2 separate regions of the Homo sapiens genome follow, and region 2 is linked to region 1. Evidence: promoter capture Hi-C in human tissues and cell types (Jung and others, 2019). All regions are on one chromosome and are shown on one strand. Each heading gives the region's core, a stretch centred on a gene start or on the middle of the fragment in contact. The rest is flanking DNA. Distances are from core to core; before and after follow the strand shown. Region 1 has its middle 14 kb from the start of HTT. Region 2 holds the start of SH3BP2 (SH3 domain binding protein 2).

What was found. Contacts are between HindIII fragments. The study calls those that stand out against the background at their distance.
Region 2: a contact is called between the fragment with the promoter of SH3BP2 here and a fragment that was not itself captured in region 1, in 1 of the 25 tissues and cell types used here (mesenchymal stem cells).

Annotation. Positions count from the first base shown.
Region 1 is chr4:3,059,257-3,062,185 of GRCh38, reverse strand. It overlaps HTT-AS. Among named protein-coding and RNA genes, the nearest start is that of HTT, 14 kb to the left of the region's middle. The HindIII fragment of the contact is 6,114 bases long and covers 1-2,929 here.
Region 2 is chr4:2,791,554-2,794,482 of GRCh38, reverse strand. It overlaps SH3BP2 (SH3 domain binding protein 2), which reads right to left and starts at 1,398. Exons shown (of 13, transcript NM_001122681.2): 1 at 1,345-1,398. RefSeq lists a silencer at 1,331-1,680. The HindIII fragment of the contact is 44,064 bases long and covers 1-2,929 here.

The sequences.
Region 1 (2,929 bases), core at 272-2,771:
TGGTGGCATGCACTTGTGGTCCCAGCTACTTGGGAGGCTGAGGTATGTGAAAGGAACATACCTTGAGCCCCCAAATCACTGAAGCTAAAGGGGAAGTTCAAGCTAGGAACTGCTCCCATTCCATTCAAAGTCATCCTTCTGCTCACTGAGATAGATGCATATTCTCTCTCTCTTTTTTTTTTTTTTTTTTTTTTTTTTTAATTTGAGATAGAGTCTTGCCCTGTCGTCCGGGCTGGAGTGCAGTGGTGTGATCTCGGCTCACTGCAAGCTCCGCCTCCCCGGTTCACGCCATTCTCCTGCCTCAGCCTGCCGAGTAGCTGGGACTACAGGTGCTCGCCACCACACCCAGCTAGTTTTTTGTATTTTTTAGTAGAGATGGGGTTTCATCATGTTAGCCAGGATGGTCTCAATCTCCTGACTTTGTGACCTGCCCGCCTCGGCTTCCCAAAGTGCTGGGATTACAGGCGTGAGCCACTTTGCCCAGGCCTTTTTTTTTTTTTTCTGAGATGGAGTTTCACTCTTGTTGCCCAGGCTGGAGTGCAATGGCACCATCTCAGCTCACTGCAACCTCTTCCTTCTGGGTTCAAGCTATTCTCCTGCCTCAGCCTCCCGAGTAGCTGGGATTACAGGCGCCCGCCACCACGCCCAGCTAATTTTTTGTATTTTTAGTAGAGACAGGGTTTCACCATGTTGGCCGGGCTGCTCTCAAACTCCTGACCTCAGGTGATCCACCCACCTCCGCCTCCCAAAGTGCTGGCATTACAGGCATGAGCCACTGCGCCCAGTCAATAGACGCATATTCTGATTGCCTCCTTTGGAAAGGCTTATCGGAGATTCAAAAGAATGCAACCATTTGTCTACCTGTGACCTAGAAGCTCTCTCCCTGCCTCAAGTTGTCCCCGCCTTTCTGGACGGAACCAATGTACTTCTTACATATATGAATTGACGTCTCATGTCTCCCTAAAATGTATAAAACCAAGCTGTGCCCCGACCATCTTGGGAACATGTCATCAGGATTTCCTGAGGCTGTGTCACTGAAGTGGCATAATACCCAAGGTTCTGGGGTAATACCCAAGGTTCATTGCCTCATGCCAAGGAAATCAAGAACATAGATACACACGGAGTGGGGTTAAGAGTGGAGCTTTAATAGGTGAAAGAAAGAGAAAAATGAATAGCTGTCTCCTATAGAGAGAGAGGGGTGCCCCAGTGGGTCTTCCAGCCTGCGGCAGAATGGACAGGGTTTTATAGACAGGCTTGAGGAGGTGGTGTCTAATTTACACAGGGCCCAAAGATTGGTTGGACCAGGCATAATGTTTACATAGCATGCAAAGAAGCTGCCCACCCTACCCTCACCTTTTATTATGCAAATTGGTCTCTACTCGGGGGACACTATGTTGCCTGCTCCTTACTGTGCACATGGTTGACAAGGAAAGGGAAGATGGAGCCGCCATGTTGGATCTGCCTGGCCCCAGGTAGCCTTTTCTTATTGGCACAGCTGCCAGCATTCACCTGTGCAAGCTTCCAGCTTGCTTGTGTATGTCTGCAGCTCGATTTTACAGGCTGCTCTTTGTTAGAAAAGAAAATGCTTGGGGGCTGCTTTTCATTGAAAAGAAAACCTTACCGAGGACTTTCTTACCCTCAGTATCTGCCTAAATAATTTCTTTTTAACTCGTATATCATCACAGGTGTGCACCCTCAACCTTGGCAAAATAAACTTTCTAAATTAAATGAGACCTTTCTCAAATTTTGGGGTTTCAGAGGTGGAAGGATCACTTGAGCCCAGGAGTATGAGGAGCTATAATCATGCCACCAAACTCTAGCCTGGGCAACAAAATGAGATCCTGTTTCTAAAGATGCTTTAAAATGTGTAAATGTAGTAGACTCATGATTCAGGAAAAACCCAAGAAAAGTGTGAGGAAAGATTGAAGAGACACCAACCGAGATTAGTAAGGAAATGTAGAAATGAGGACTTCTTAAAATTGCTATGACCTCCTATCACTTTTCTGAAGAGTGACTTGGCAATGTCTTTCAAAAGATTTAACTGTGCCAACCATTTCATCACACTTAGCATGTACGCACAGGGCATTACTGTAGGGAAGTATTAAATAACCATCGAAAGACCCAGGAACACAGCTACTCAGGAGACCGACGCAGGAGAATCACTGGAACCCAGGAGACAGAGGTTGCAGTGAGCTGAGATCACGCCACTGAACTCCAGCCTGGGTGACAGAATGAATGAGACTCCGTCTCAAAAAAAAAAACAAAAAACACAGGGACAAAGATGTTAAAGCAACATTAATATCAAGAAGATGAGGCCAGGCGCAGTGGCTCAGGCCTGTAATCCCAGCATTTTGGGAGGCCAAGGCAGGTGGACCACCTGAGGTCAGGAGTTTGAGACCAGCCTGACCAACATGGTGAAACCCCATCTCTACTAAAAATACAAAAATTAGCTGGGTGTGGTGGTGCATGCACCTGTAATCCCAGCTACTCAGGAGGCTGAGGAGGGAGGTGGAGGTTGCAGTGGGCCGGGATCAGGCCACTGCACTCCAGCCTGGGTGACGGAGCGAGACTCTGTCTCAAAAAAAGAAAAAAAAAATGAAACAACCTCAATGTCCAAAAATAGAAAATTGGTAGAAACATTAATACTTCCAAATATTGGAATACTGAAAAGCCATTTAAAATGACTTATTTATGAGGAAGTGGAGAAATTGGAACCTTGGTGCACCATTGGTATGTTAAAAACTTCCAACAAATTGAATTGAACAGAGTTTAGCTGATCAAGGAAAAAAAAAACAATTCACAAATGGTGCAGGTCCCAGAATCACAGCAGATTCAGGGAGACTCTAGGGATGCTGTGTGGTCAAAGCAAATTTATGGACAGAAAAGGGAAAGTGGCCACAGAAAGCAGAAGTGAGGCACGTTAACAGCC
Region 2 (2,929 bases), core at 149-2,648, 270 kb after region 1:
CGTCCCAGGCCTCCTGTCCTGCCAGGAGTGGAGTGCCTGGAGTGGGGCCCTGAGGTTGGGCTCCAAGAGGGCCCTTCGACGGTGTCTACGTAGAGGAGACAGTGGACAGAGTGGGAAGAACCAGGAGGGGGTGGAGCCCAGCCCCTCCTCTGGTCCCACAGGGCCTGAGCCAGTGAGGGCAGGAGCTTGTCCAGGCTCATGGAGTTGGTGCAGGGCTGACCTGAACCCAGAGGCTTGCTTCGGCAAGGAGGAGGCTGTGGGCCCTGCCTTCAGGCGGTTGTGGAAACAATTCTACACATTGCATCACCGGCCCATGTCACCTGCAAGGCCACACACATGTCATCCAGGCAGGCTGTCCACCCCAGCAGCCCACACGGAGTACCCGCCCCTGGCCACAGCCAATTCGAAGGACTTAAGTGTGGCCACTAGACCAGGAGGCACAGCTGTCCCCAGTGTCAACAGATGAGCAAACTGAGGCACAGAGAGGGGATAGGAGGTGCTCACGGAAAGGAGCACCAGCAGAAGGCTCCCCACAGCAGGGCTCAGGCCCTCAATACCCCCAGGGAGCCGAGGCCCAGAGCAGCGGGAAAGTGCTGGGCTGCAGGGAGGCCAGCGTACAGGTGGAAGGGGCTGTCCCCGCCCCCTAACTCCTCCAGTCCCTCTGCCACCCCTGAGATTCCCTGTTGCCCATGAGAGTCTCAGACGCCCGGCTATCAGTCACTCACACTTCAGTGTGAATCAGCGCCAGTGGGCGGCTTTTCTTGCCCTCCGTGAAGCGCGGCCGCTGCAGAGGGAAGTTTGGATTCCGGGAAGGGCGGAGAGCGAGTGCCCGCCGCAGCCTTTGAGTCTTGTGGGGAGGGTCGCGTAAAGGGGCCCCGCCGCGGGGCCAGAGGGGCGCGAGGGGTGCGAAACAGACGCGTCGCACCGCCTCCCACCCCTGAGCCCCCGGCAAGGGACACCCGGCCCCCGCCCCGAAGCCGCGCTCCCTCGGGCACTGCCCGCCGTGCCCAGGCCCCGTGCGTCCTTTGGCAAGGACACGGAGGCCCCGGGGCCCGGGGGAGGCTGCTGCGCACCCGAGACCCCCGACACCCGCCCATACCTGCCGGGACCCTGAGACTCCCCCGAGACCTGCCAAGACCTGCCGGGACCCCTGAGACTCCCCGGAGACTCCCCCGAGACCCCCGAGACCCGCCGAGACCTGTCGGGACCCCGAGACTCCCCCGAGACCCCCGAGACCCGCCGAGAGCCCCCAGACCGCCAAGGCCCGCCGAGCCCCTTCCAGACGCGGAGACCGCCCCCCCGCGAGACCCCCGAGACCCGCCGAGACCCGCCGCCGAGGCTTACCCGCCGAGCGCTCTCCTGGCCCGCGGGCCCTGGGTCGAGGCGGCGGCTTGACTCGGCCGCCAGGCGCTCCCGCCCGCGGGACCCGCCGCCGCCGCAGCTCCGTCCCGCCCGCGCCCGCCCAGTCCGCCCTCCTCCTGGCCCCGCCCCGGCCCCGCCCCTCCCCGGCGGGTCCCGCAATCCTGGAGGTCCGAGCTGGGCGTGGGGCGGGGCCGGTACCTCAGGGTGGGCGGGGAACTGCACGTGGCCTCCGCGGCCCCGGGACGAGGCCCCTGGGGGGCGAAGACTGGCGTTGTCGCGGGCCTAGACGCCGGGTCCACAGTAGGTGCTTAGTTCTCGCCCGTGAGTGAGGTAGCGTGTCTGTCCCTCCTGCGTGTCCCTCCCAGTGACACCCCAGTGCCCAGCGACCCAGGTGGAAAGGGCGCTGTCCACCCCCCCAGCCCCGTGGTCCTGATCCTGGGCGGCCCCACCCCTGCCCCGTGAGTGCGACTTAGGCCCTGGCCAAGACAGGAGCAGGGGAGGTGGGGGAGGGCTTGCTGGGCACCAGGAAACCTTGTCTTTGTTTCCAAATGTCCTCCAGGGTACTTTTCAGGCACTTCCCAGGGGGACCTCGCCTCTTGGACCAGGTCTGGACTCCGGTGGCCCAGAGGTCGTCTTGGGGCTGGGAGGCACAGGAGACCGGGTGCTTTACACTTGGCCTCCTCTGAGGCTCCCTTTCCTCCACCATCACCCTCTCCCTAAGAGTAGGCCCAGATGCCTTGGTGTAAGGGCAGGGGCGAGAAGAGGAGGGGCTTCCTGGGAGGAAATGGCTTCCCTGGGGAGCTCTCAGGGCCAGGTAGGTGGAGGGAGCCGTGGAGAAAGTGAAGAGGCTGGGGAGACCAAGCTGGGCCTGCAGAGCTTGAGGGCGAGCGGACCCCCCACCAGTGCGGGAGTCAACTGCTTGGGGCGTGGGGGGACTCCTCCCCATGAGGAGTGGGGACTGGACCCCAGGTCCCAGAGCCCAGGAAGCTGTGAGTAGAGGAAGGACAGGATCTTGCTGGGAACCCAAGGGAGCTGGGGGTGGGTGGTGGTGACCTGGCCCTGTCCAGGCAGGCGGCCAAGGTCTGACCCTCTGTACTGAGCACAAGAGGCCAGAGTCCAATGACAGGGGCTGAATTGGCTGCTCCAAATCAGGCAGGGGCAGGGGTGTCCAGGGCTGGCCCTGCAGCAGGTGAAGGACTGGGTTTGGGTCCTACAGGTTGAAATACCTGAGGGCCTCCAGGAGACACAGCCAAACCAAGCGGGTTCTCAGGGTTGCAGCTGGACCGAGTGTGGGCCAAGTCACCGTCCACCTGTCCCAGAGCTGCCCAATAATGGGTCCCAAGCCTCAGAAAGGGGATCCCTGGCTGCAATAGCCCTCCTCCCTGCTGGAGAGACACACTTGGGATCAGAGAGGTTAACTGGGGAGGGGAGTAAGTGGGAGGAGTCAGAAAACTAGGTGGCCAGGCCCTGAGCCCAGGCATAGAGGAAGAGCCAGTGCCTACCAGGAAGTGACCAGGACCAAGGCAGGGCCTCTGGAAGGGAAGGGACAAAGCAGGGGATGGCAGAG